Linked DNA regions of Homo sapiens: all the other regions are linked to region 3. Evidence: promoter capture Hi-C in human tissues and cell types (Jung and others, 2019). All regions are on one chromosome and are shown on one strand. The core of a region is centred on a gene start or on the middle of the fragment in contact, and the rest is flanking DNA. Distances in the headings are between cores, read along the strand shown. Region 1 holds the start of AIRE (autoimmune regulator). Region 2 holds the start of ICOSLG (inducible T cell costimulator ligand). Region 3 overlaps TRAPPC10 (trafficking protein particle complex subunit 10).

Evidence for each region. Contacts are between HindIII fragments. The study calls those that stand out against the background at their distance.
Region 1: a contact is called between the fragment with the promoter of AIRE here and a fragment that was not itself captured in region 3, in 2 of the 25 tissues and cell types used here (spleen and stomach).
Region 2: the fragment with the promoter of ICOSLG here is called in contact with a fragment that was not itself captured in region 3 in 2 of the 25 tissues and cell types used here (dorsolateral prefrontal cortex and spleen).

Annotation. Positions count from the first base shown.
Region 1 is chr21:44,284,548-44,287,247 of GRCh38, forward strand. It overlaps AIRE (autoimmune regulator), which reads left to right and starts at 1,329. Exons shown (of 14, transcript NM_000383.4): 1 at 1,329-1,591; 2 at 2,010-2,184; 3 at 2,431-2,586. The coding sequence starts at 1,460. RefSeq lists enhancers at 1-206, 207-808. The HindIII fragment of the contact is 44,459 bases long and covers 1-2,700 here.
Region 2 is chr21:44,239,648-44,242,347 of GRCh38, forward strand. ICOSLG (inducible T cell costimulator ligand) reads right to left here and starts at 1,296. Exons shown (of 7, transcript NM_015259.6): 1 at 1,157-1,296. The coding sequence starts at 1,170. RefSeq lists an enhancer at 1-551 and cis regulatory regions at 1,107-2,106, 1,107-2,031, 1,107-2,022. The HindIII fragment of the contact is 7,916 bases long and covers 1-2,700 here.
Region 3 is chr21:44,098,506-44,101,205 of GRCh38, forward strand. TRAPPC10 (trafficking protein particle complex subunit 10) reads left to right here. Exons shown (of 23, transcript NM_003274.5): 21 at 1-29. Among named protein-coding and RNA genes, the nearest start is that of PWP2, 7.5 kb to the right of the region's middle. The HindIII fragment of the contact is 4,324 bases long and covers 1-2,700 here.

The DNA of each region.
Region 1 (2,700 bases), core at 79-2,578, 190 kb after region 3:
CCTGGTCTAGAGGAGAGGTGTCTGCCGCTCTCCATCCTGGACTCTGGCTGCCCAAAAGCAAACGGCACGCCTGCCCACGTGGGAATCTTGGTGGCGTCTCTCACTGCATCAGTTAGCCCCCAGCCCAGTGCTGCCTGGATTCAGGCTTCCTGGTACCTTCGTCCACCCTTCAGCCCTAATCCATGCTGGCCAGGTCATCTCGTTCTCTGGCTCAGTGGGAACACTCGTGCCCAGAGACCTCTCGTGGTTCTCTGCAGCCTGCACACAGGGCCTGCTTCCCTGGCTTGACCGCACAGACAAGGGGACTGTTACCAAGGCCTCCCACTGAGGCCACCCCCCCTCCAGGCCATGCCTGCGGGGCCACCACAGCCTCAGCATCATTGCAGGCCCCAGGCCTCTGCACCTGGTCTTGTTTTACTGGGGGCACTGTCCCCACTCACGTCCACCTGGGACCCTCGGCTCCTGTCCACTGCAGCTCCCCTCCCGGACACCTTCCCAGATGCCCCCGGAAGCTCCTGTCCAGGCCACAGCATCCCTCAGCCTCTGTCACTGGTCCTAGGAAGACCCTTTGGGAGCTCTCACTCAGGGCCACACTCAGGACCCCCGTTGTGGGGCTGGCCGCCTTCCTTCTAAAGCACCTGGAGGAAGGAAGGAGGGGGTCAATGCGAGCCTCAATCCCCAGGCGAGTGTGCCCCTTTTAAAGATGAGGGAACCGAGGCTCAGAGAAGGAAAGGACTTGCCTGGCGTCACACAGCTAGCCTAAGATGGTGAGGTCAGGAGCTCCCTGGCAACACCCAGGCTGCCGTACCGTCTCCTGCATCAGACTGAGCCTCCATCGGGCTCCTCCCACAGCCCCAGGCGGGCCCCTGAGTAGGGGCTCTCAGCTTGTGTGGAGGTCCCCCAGGAACACCACCCCGATCCAGCCTCCATGGAGGCTCTTGCCGGCCACTGGGAGGGGCCGGTGCACCCTGGGCAGCCCCTGCCAGGGCCCTGAGACCCGAGCCTCCCCGCCGAGGGCACCTGTCTCGGCTTTGCCCCATTCGAGCAGGGCCCTCGCCGAGGCAGGACAGGGCCACATTCGGAAGTGAGAGTTCTCTGAGTCCCGCACAGAGCGAGTCTCTGTCCCCAGCCCCCAAGGCAGCTGCCCTGGTGGGTGAGTCAGGCCAGGCCCGGAGACTTCCCGAGAGCGAGGGAGGGACAGCAGCGCCTCCATCACAGGGAAGTGTCCCTGCGGGAGGCCCTGGCCCTGATTGGGCGCCGGGGCGGAGCGGCCTTTGCTCTTTGCGTGGTCGCGGGGGTATAACAGCGGCGCGCGTGGCTCGCAGACCGGGGAGACGGGCGGGCGCACAGCCGGCGCGGAGGCCCCACAGCCCCGCCGGGACCCGAGGCCAAGCGAGGGGCTGCCAGTGTCCCGGGACCCACCGCGTCCGCCCCAGCCCCGGGTCCCCGCGCCCACCCCATGGCGACGGACGCGGCGCTACGCCGGCTTCTGAGGCTGCACCGCACGGAGATCGCGGTGGCCGTGGACAGCGCCTTCCCACTGCTGCACGCGCTGGCTGACCACGACGTGGTCCCCGAGGACAAGTTTCAGGTGGGCTCCCCGCCCGCCCCCCGCTGCCCCCAGGCCCTGTGAGCCAGGGATAGTCCCCGGGGAAGTTCCAGGAGGACCCCGCCCCTCCAGATCCCCAAGCCCCTCCAGCCTTCCCCAACTCCCTCCCCACAAGGAGCCAGGGGCGTCCCTGATGACAAGTTAGAAGTTGGTCCCCTTCCCCCAGCCGTCCCCACACCTCACCCCCAAGCCAAGGGAATGGCCTCCAGGTTCCCCCAGCCCCACCCTCAACACCCCTACACCACCACCTGACTCCACCACAAGCCGAGGAGATGGGCGTGGAGCTGTCCAGGTCGCCAGCGCCTCTGCCTGGGAGCTCCACCCTCTAGTCATGATGGAGATGGGCAGGCCGCAGGGTGTGGGGGACCATGGCAGGGACCCTCATGCCACCCCACTGCAGGAGACGCTTCATCTGAAGGAAAAGGAGGGCTGCCCCCAGGCCTTCCACGCCCTCCTGTCCTGGCTGCTGACCCAGGACTCCACAGCCATCCTGGACTTCTGGAGGGTGCTGTTCAAGGACTACAACCTGGAGCGCTATGGCCGGCTGCAGCCCATCCTGGACAGCTTCCCCAAAGGTGGGTCCTGGTGGACTCAGCCATGCTGGGGGCCTGGGGCAGCTGCTGTCACCTGCTCAGCCCAGCTGGACTGGAACCGGAGTGGTGTTTGAGGAGCCCGTGGGTGATGTTCCAGGACCGTCTTGGATCCTAAGAGGCAAAGGGGCCAGGCCTCACCTGTCTGGCCAAGGTGTCCAGTTCTGGGGCCCACCCTACCCCTGGAGAAAACCCTGAGGTTGGGACCCTGCTCCTGCCCCTGAGCTGCAGATGTGGACCTCAGCCAGCCCCGGAAGGGGAGGAAGCCCCCGGCCGTCCCCAAGGCTTTGGTACCGCCACCCAGACTCCCCACCAAGAGGAAGGCCTCAGAAGAGGCTCGAGCTGCCGCGCCAGCAGCCCTGACTCCAAGGGGCACCGCCAGCCCAGGTACCCTCCCTGCAGGGGAAGCCAGCCAGGGTCTCCAGTCTTCCCGGGCTTCCCCGGGAGCCCACGCCCCCTCCCCACCCGGGCTCCCACCCACTGGGTGTGGGGCCAGCCTGC
Region 2 (2,700 bases), core at 46-2,545, 140 kb after region 3:
GGCCCCCTGCCTCCACCCTTAGCCCCTTCAAGCATTTCCCCAGAGCCACCATCTAAACGACAGCTGTGAGAACTCCTCTGTGCCCCCATTTGTCTCCCACAGTGCCCATATTCATCACCAGCCCACAAGGCCCCTCCTGTCTATGGAGGCCTCCTCAGGACATCTGGGGGCTTCCTGGGCCAGGGTGGGGGGTGCCTGCTCCAGGCTGTTTCTGGCTTGTCCCCTCCCTGGGTGCTGCCTAAGCAGCGGCCTCTGTGTCCTTTCCTTGGACCCTCAGCACCCCTGCATCTAACCTACCCCCACCCCGAGCTTGCCTCAAGACCCAGCATGGACAGGGCCGCCTACCTGAAGGTGTGGGTGGCGGAGGGCTAAGACATTTGGGAGGGCTATGACATTCCGGGACCTTTAAATTCTTTCTCTCTAGGGCAGGATCATAACTGCATACACTTCTAATGGGGAGGGGACCTGGGGAGTGTGACTCCGGTGTGGCCCAGCTCTGAGCTGTGCGGGAGGCATCCCTGGGGTCAGGGGCCTCACAGGTTCACCCAGGGGAGCACAGGCTGCGGACCCTACAACGTGGGTTGCGAAGAGTATATTTTGGATATTTTCGCAAAAATCCAGGAGGAAGCTGTCACTCCTGGTTCAGGCAGCCCCGCCTTCCCCAGTGTGGATCGGCTGCCGGGCTGCGGGGAATCCCACGTGTGTGGGGGAGGGCGTGTCCGCAGACCGTGGGCACCAGCTGGCCTTGGAGAGCGCTCGGCCGGTCACCTCCCTCCTTCTCCCTTCTTCTAGGAAATCAGCAGTGCCAGGGAGTGGAAGGGGCAGCGCCCGTGCCCCGGCGTGCAGGGTGCGCCCGCCTTCCCTCCCTCCTTCCAGCGTTCGCGGTCCTCCTTCCCTGGCAGGGACCCCGCCCCCGAGCCCGCCCCCGCACGGCTGTGCGTCCTGCCATGGGTCCCGGTGCCAGGCCCCGCCGCCCACTGCCGTCCACGCCCCGCCGGCCGCCCCGGCGCCTCCGCCGCCCGCTCCTCGGACCCGCACTGCCAGCCCGGCACCTCCAGGCGAGCCCCGCAGGCCCCGCGTCCGAGCCGAGCTGGGGACGCGCGGGCCGAGCCACCCCGCCCCTGACCGCGGCGCCTCCGCTCCTTCCCCGGCTCACCTGCCCAGCCGCATGGTGCGGGCGGAGACCTCGGGCCGCGGAGACCTCGGGGCGCGGAGACCTCGGGGCGCGGAGAACTTGGGCCGCGGGAGACCTCGGAGAGGAGCAACCTCGGGGCGCGGGAGATCGGCTCTAACTGCGCTCCCGCCGCGCCCGAGGCTCTGAGCGCCCAGCGCGCGGTGTGCTGGAGGCAGCCGTGTCCCCGCCCCGTCCCCGCCCCGCCCCCGGCCTGGCTCCTCTGGCGACCGAGACCGCCCCGGGACAGGAGGCGGGGCGCTGCGCGGCGGCTCCGGAAAGTTCGGCTCTGCCCAGGCGTGTGCCCGTCGGCCGGAGGCGGGACAGAGGCAGGTCGGCCTGTCCGCCTGGACGCGGACCTGGGCGCCGTAGGTGCCCTGGGAAGCGCAGGGGTGGGGGGTACCCGGCAGGAAGGTGGCCAGGGGTGCTGCGGGTGCCGGCGCAGCGAGGGAGGGCACCGTGGGAGGCAAGGGCCGTTCCCCGCGCCGCGCACAATGCGCCGGTCCTGCGGCCCTCCCCGAGCAGGAGTCCGGGGACCCAGGCCCCAAGGCTGGGAGAGCGCCAGGCCCCTGGCCGGCTGCGCTCCGATGATCTCCAGGACTTAAGGCGAGTGAGCTCAGCGACTGCTGAGGAATGAATGACTGAATGAACGCATGCATGAATGGAAGGAGGGAGGGAAAGTGGGCGGGCTCTACCCTCTGGGCCAGCCCCAGCCCGCCCCCACCTAGCCTTGCTCCCCTAGCCTTCTAGGGGTGTGAAGGGCGCTGGCGCAGCCTCTTTGCTTAACACTGGCTCTGAGGATCCCCCGCCGAGAAACCGAGGCAGGCTTGCGGCTCTGGGCTCGTCAGCCTTGGCAGTGGCGTCTGGCCTGGAGTCTGGGGCAGCTGGTTTGGGAAAGGCTGCACCACGCAACCGAGGGTGGGACCCAGAGTCCCTGCTCCTTCCCCACCGCACCCAGCCCACCCCGCCCTCCCTCCCTGATCCCTGCAAGCCAGGTGAGGCCCAGGGGGGACGTGACTCCCTTTCTGCAGAGGCACCTCCGGAAGGGCCTGGGTGAGGCTGCTAGACAGGGCAGCGGGGCACCCTCCTCCCGGAGCCCCCGCCTCTGGGCTGAGGCTCGGATCCCCACCGCCTCCTGCGCATGGAGGAGGCGAGAAGCGCAGGGAGACGGGGGCCCCAGACGGCACCCCGCAGGCTGCCATTCCTTCAACCAAGATGTAGAGAACGCCGTGGACAAAAGCTTTAAAAAAATTCTGAAACCTCTGCCCGTGGGAAGTCAACATTTTTGCGGAGCAGAGAGCCCAGGCACAAAATAAGAAGGCGGAAGAGACGGGCTGGGGGGATAGGGGGGACGGCGGCGGGGAAGGGCAGGGAGGGCGGCGGCGAAGGCGCAGGAAGCCCTGAAGCCGGGCGGCTTCCCCCTCCCAGGCCACGCTGAGAGACGGGGGTTGGGGGGATTTAAAATCGCGCGCCTGGCAGGGGCGGGGCGGGGGCCACCTGCCCTCCGGCGGGAAGAGCTGGGCAGGGCC
Region 3 (2,700 bases), core at 127-2,626:
GCATTTTTCGACAAAGCTTATGTATGAAGGTAGGTGGTCTCGAACCCATGGGCTCAAGCAGTCCTCCCGCCTTGGCCTCCCAGAGTGTTGGGATTACAGGTGTGAGGCACTGCACTCAGCCTATCTTGCATTTTGAATGGCTCTTTTACCCAGGCATCATAGCGTTACACCCTGTGCCATTAGTCATGTGGGAAACATGGTTTCCTGAGTTGTGCAGATCTTCCAAATGTGGGCACCTTTCGTTTGACAATATTTTTTTAAAATCTGCATTTGTGATCTCTCAGGGAGGGCTTGGAGCATCAGAACTCTTTCAAGCTCACAGTGGCAAGTGTAAGTTTTCCAAAATTCTGATTTTTGCTTAAAGTCTCAGATGGCATCATTGGCAGCAAATAGTCGTGTTGTTTTCTTTGAAGTGACAGGCTTACATCATTCATTTTTAATCAGACGTCTACCAAATACCCAACACTGAATAACTAGCTTCCCCAGCGCTCTTGCAAGTGAAAAGGGCGTTCTGTGAAAACAGCGGCTATTTCAGCTCGCAGCACCGAGCGCTCCCCGTGTGCTTTCCCTGAGCCAGCTGTCATTCTGCAGCAGAGACCCAGAGAATGTCAAGAACACAAGCACTCAAGAATGGAAATAACTCAAACGTCCTTCAGCTCGAGAGCGGTTAAACTGGCACATCTGATTCCTCCTCAGCAGTGAAACAGAAGGGACTGTTGACACACGCAGTGCTGTGGTTGGATCTCAAGGGCATTATACTAAGAGAAAAACGCCAGTCCTATAAGGAGGTGTACTGTGTGATTCCATTTCTAAATGACATCCTCAAAATGCCAGCCTCAGAAGGAGAGCGGGTCAGTGTTCCACGGAGCAGTGGGAGGCAGCAGGAGGCCGTCCTCTGTGGTAATGGAGAGTTCTGGGCCAGGGCCGCTGTGGTTGTTACACGAATCTACACATGTGACAAATGCCATAGAATTAGACCCAAAGAATGCCTGCGAAAGCTGCTGAAATCCAGTGGGGTCTGCAGCCTGGTTCACTCTGTAGTGAAATCCAGTGGGGTCTGCAGCCTGGTTCTATCTGTATTGAAATCCAGTGGGGTCTGCAGCCTGGTCCACTCTGTAGTGAAATCCAGTGTGGTCTGCAGCCTGGTTCTATCTGTATTGAAATCCAGTGGGGTCTGCAGCCTGGTCCACTCTGTAGTGAAATCCAGTGGGGTCTGCAGCCTGGTTCTAGCTGTATTGAAATCCAGTGGGGTCTGCAGCCTGGTCCACTCTGTAGTGAAATCCAGTGGGGTCTGCAGCCTGGTTCTATCTGTATTGAAATCCAGTGGGGTCTGCAGCCTGGTTCACTCTGTAGTGAAATCCAGTGGGGTCTGCAGCCTGGGTCACTGTATGGTACCAGTGTCAGCTTCCTGTGTTACACGAGATGGCACAGTTGGGTGAAGCTGGTGATGAAGGTATGTGACCCCTCTACTACTTTTACAACTTCTTGTGAGTCTATAAACATTTCACAATTAAAAAAAAGTCTACTCAGGAGCTGAATTTAATAAAATGAGCACTTTTGACTGCTTTGTGAAGCGTGGCATTTTTTTTTTTGTTTTTTTGCTGTGAGTTCATGGTAGTAAAGAACATGAGTGACATGACTGCGCAGTCTGGCCCGAGTTCATGCCATTGTGGTTGCCCCAGCAGCGCGAGGTCAGCAGCGTAGAAAGGCAGCAGTGTGAAAGCTATGAGCTTGCGGGTGCCCTGAGAGCCACACTCTGAGAACTGTCACTCCTTTGCCTTCCTCCTGACACTCCTAGGGCCTCTGCATGTCCTGTAGTAGCTCCTGTCCTCAAAGGTCCCCCATCCCCAACTACAGGATGTCCACCTCCCTGAGCCCTTCTCTGCTGCTCGTGGCCTTCTGGTCACTCACTCCCCCTGGGCGGTTGCTCGGTATCCTCATGATGGGAAGCTGTGACCTCTTTACCAGGTCTACTGCTACTGGATGGCAAGGATCCTGTCTTGCTTACTTTCATATCTCCAGGGCTAGTCCCAGTGAATGATCACTTAAGTGTTTGAATTGCATTGAATTACATGATGGTTGTGTTTTAATAATTAATGTTAATAATAACACCTGCCATATATTAAGACACTACCATGTCCCAGGAGTGGTACTAAGTGCTTTACATACAAGGGGTCTTCAAAAAAATCATGGAAGATACGTTATGAAAAAACTATGCATGGATTTCAACACTTTTTGCACCAAAATAAGCTCCTACTCACTGAGCAGGATCTAGTTTGAGGCACTAAGAAGGATAAGACATCAGTTTTAAAAGAGCCCCTATCAGAGCAACATGAATTCTGCTAAAATTAAATCAAGAACCAACATTGGCCGGGTGCAGTGGCTCACGCCTGTAATCCCAGCACTTTGGGGGGCTGAGGCAGGCGGATCACCTGAGGTCAGGAGTTCAAGATCAGCCTGGCTAATATGGCGAAACCCCATCTCTACTAAGAATACAAAAATTAGCTGGGCGTGGTGGCAGGCGCCTATAAGCCCAGCTACTTGGGAGGCTGAGGCAGGAGAATTGCCTGAACCCAGGAGGCGGAGGTTGCAGTGAGCCAAAATTGCGCCACTGCACTCCAGCCTGGGCAACGAGCAAAACTCCGCCTCAACAACAACAACAACAACAAAACAACCAACATCAAATTTATGGTGAAGCTT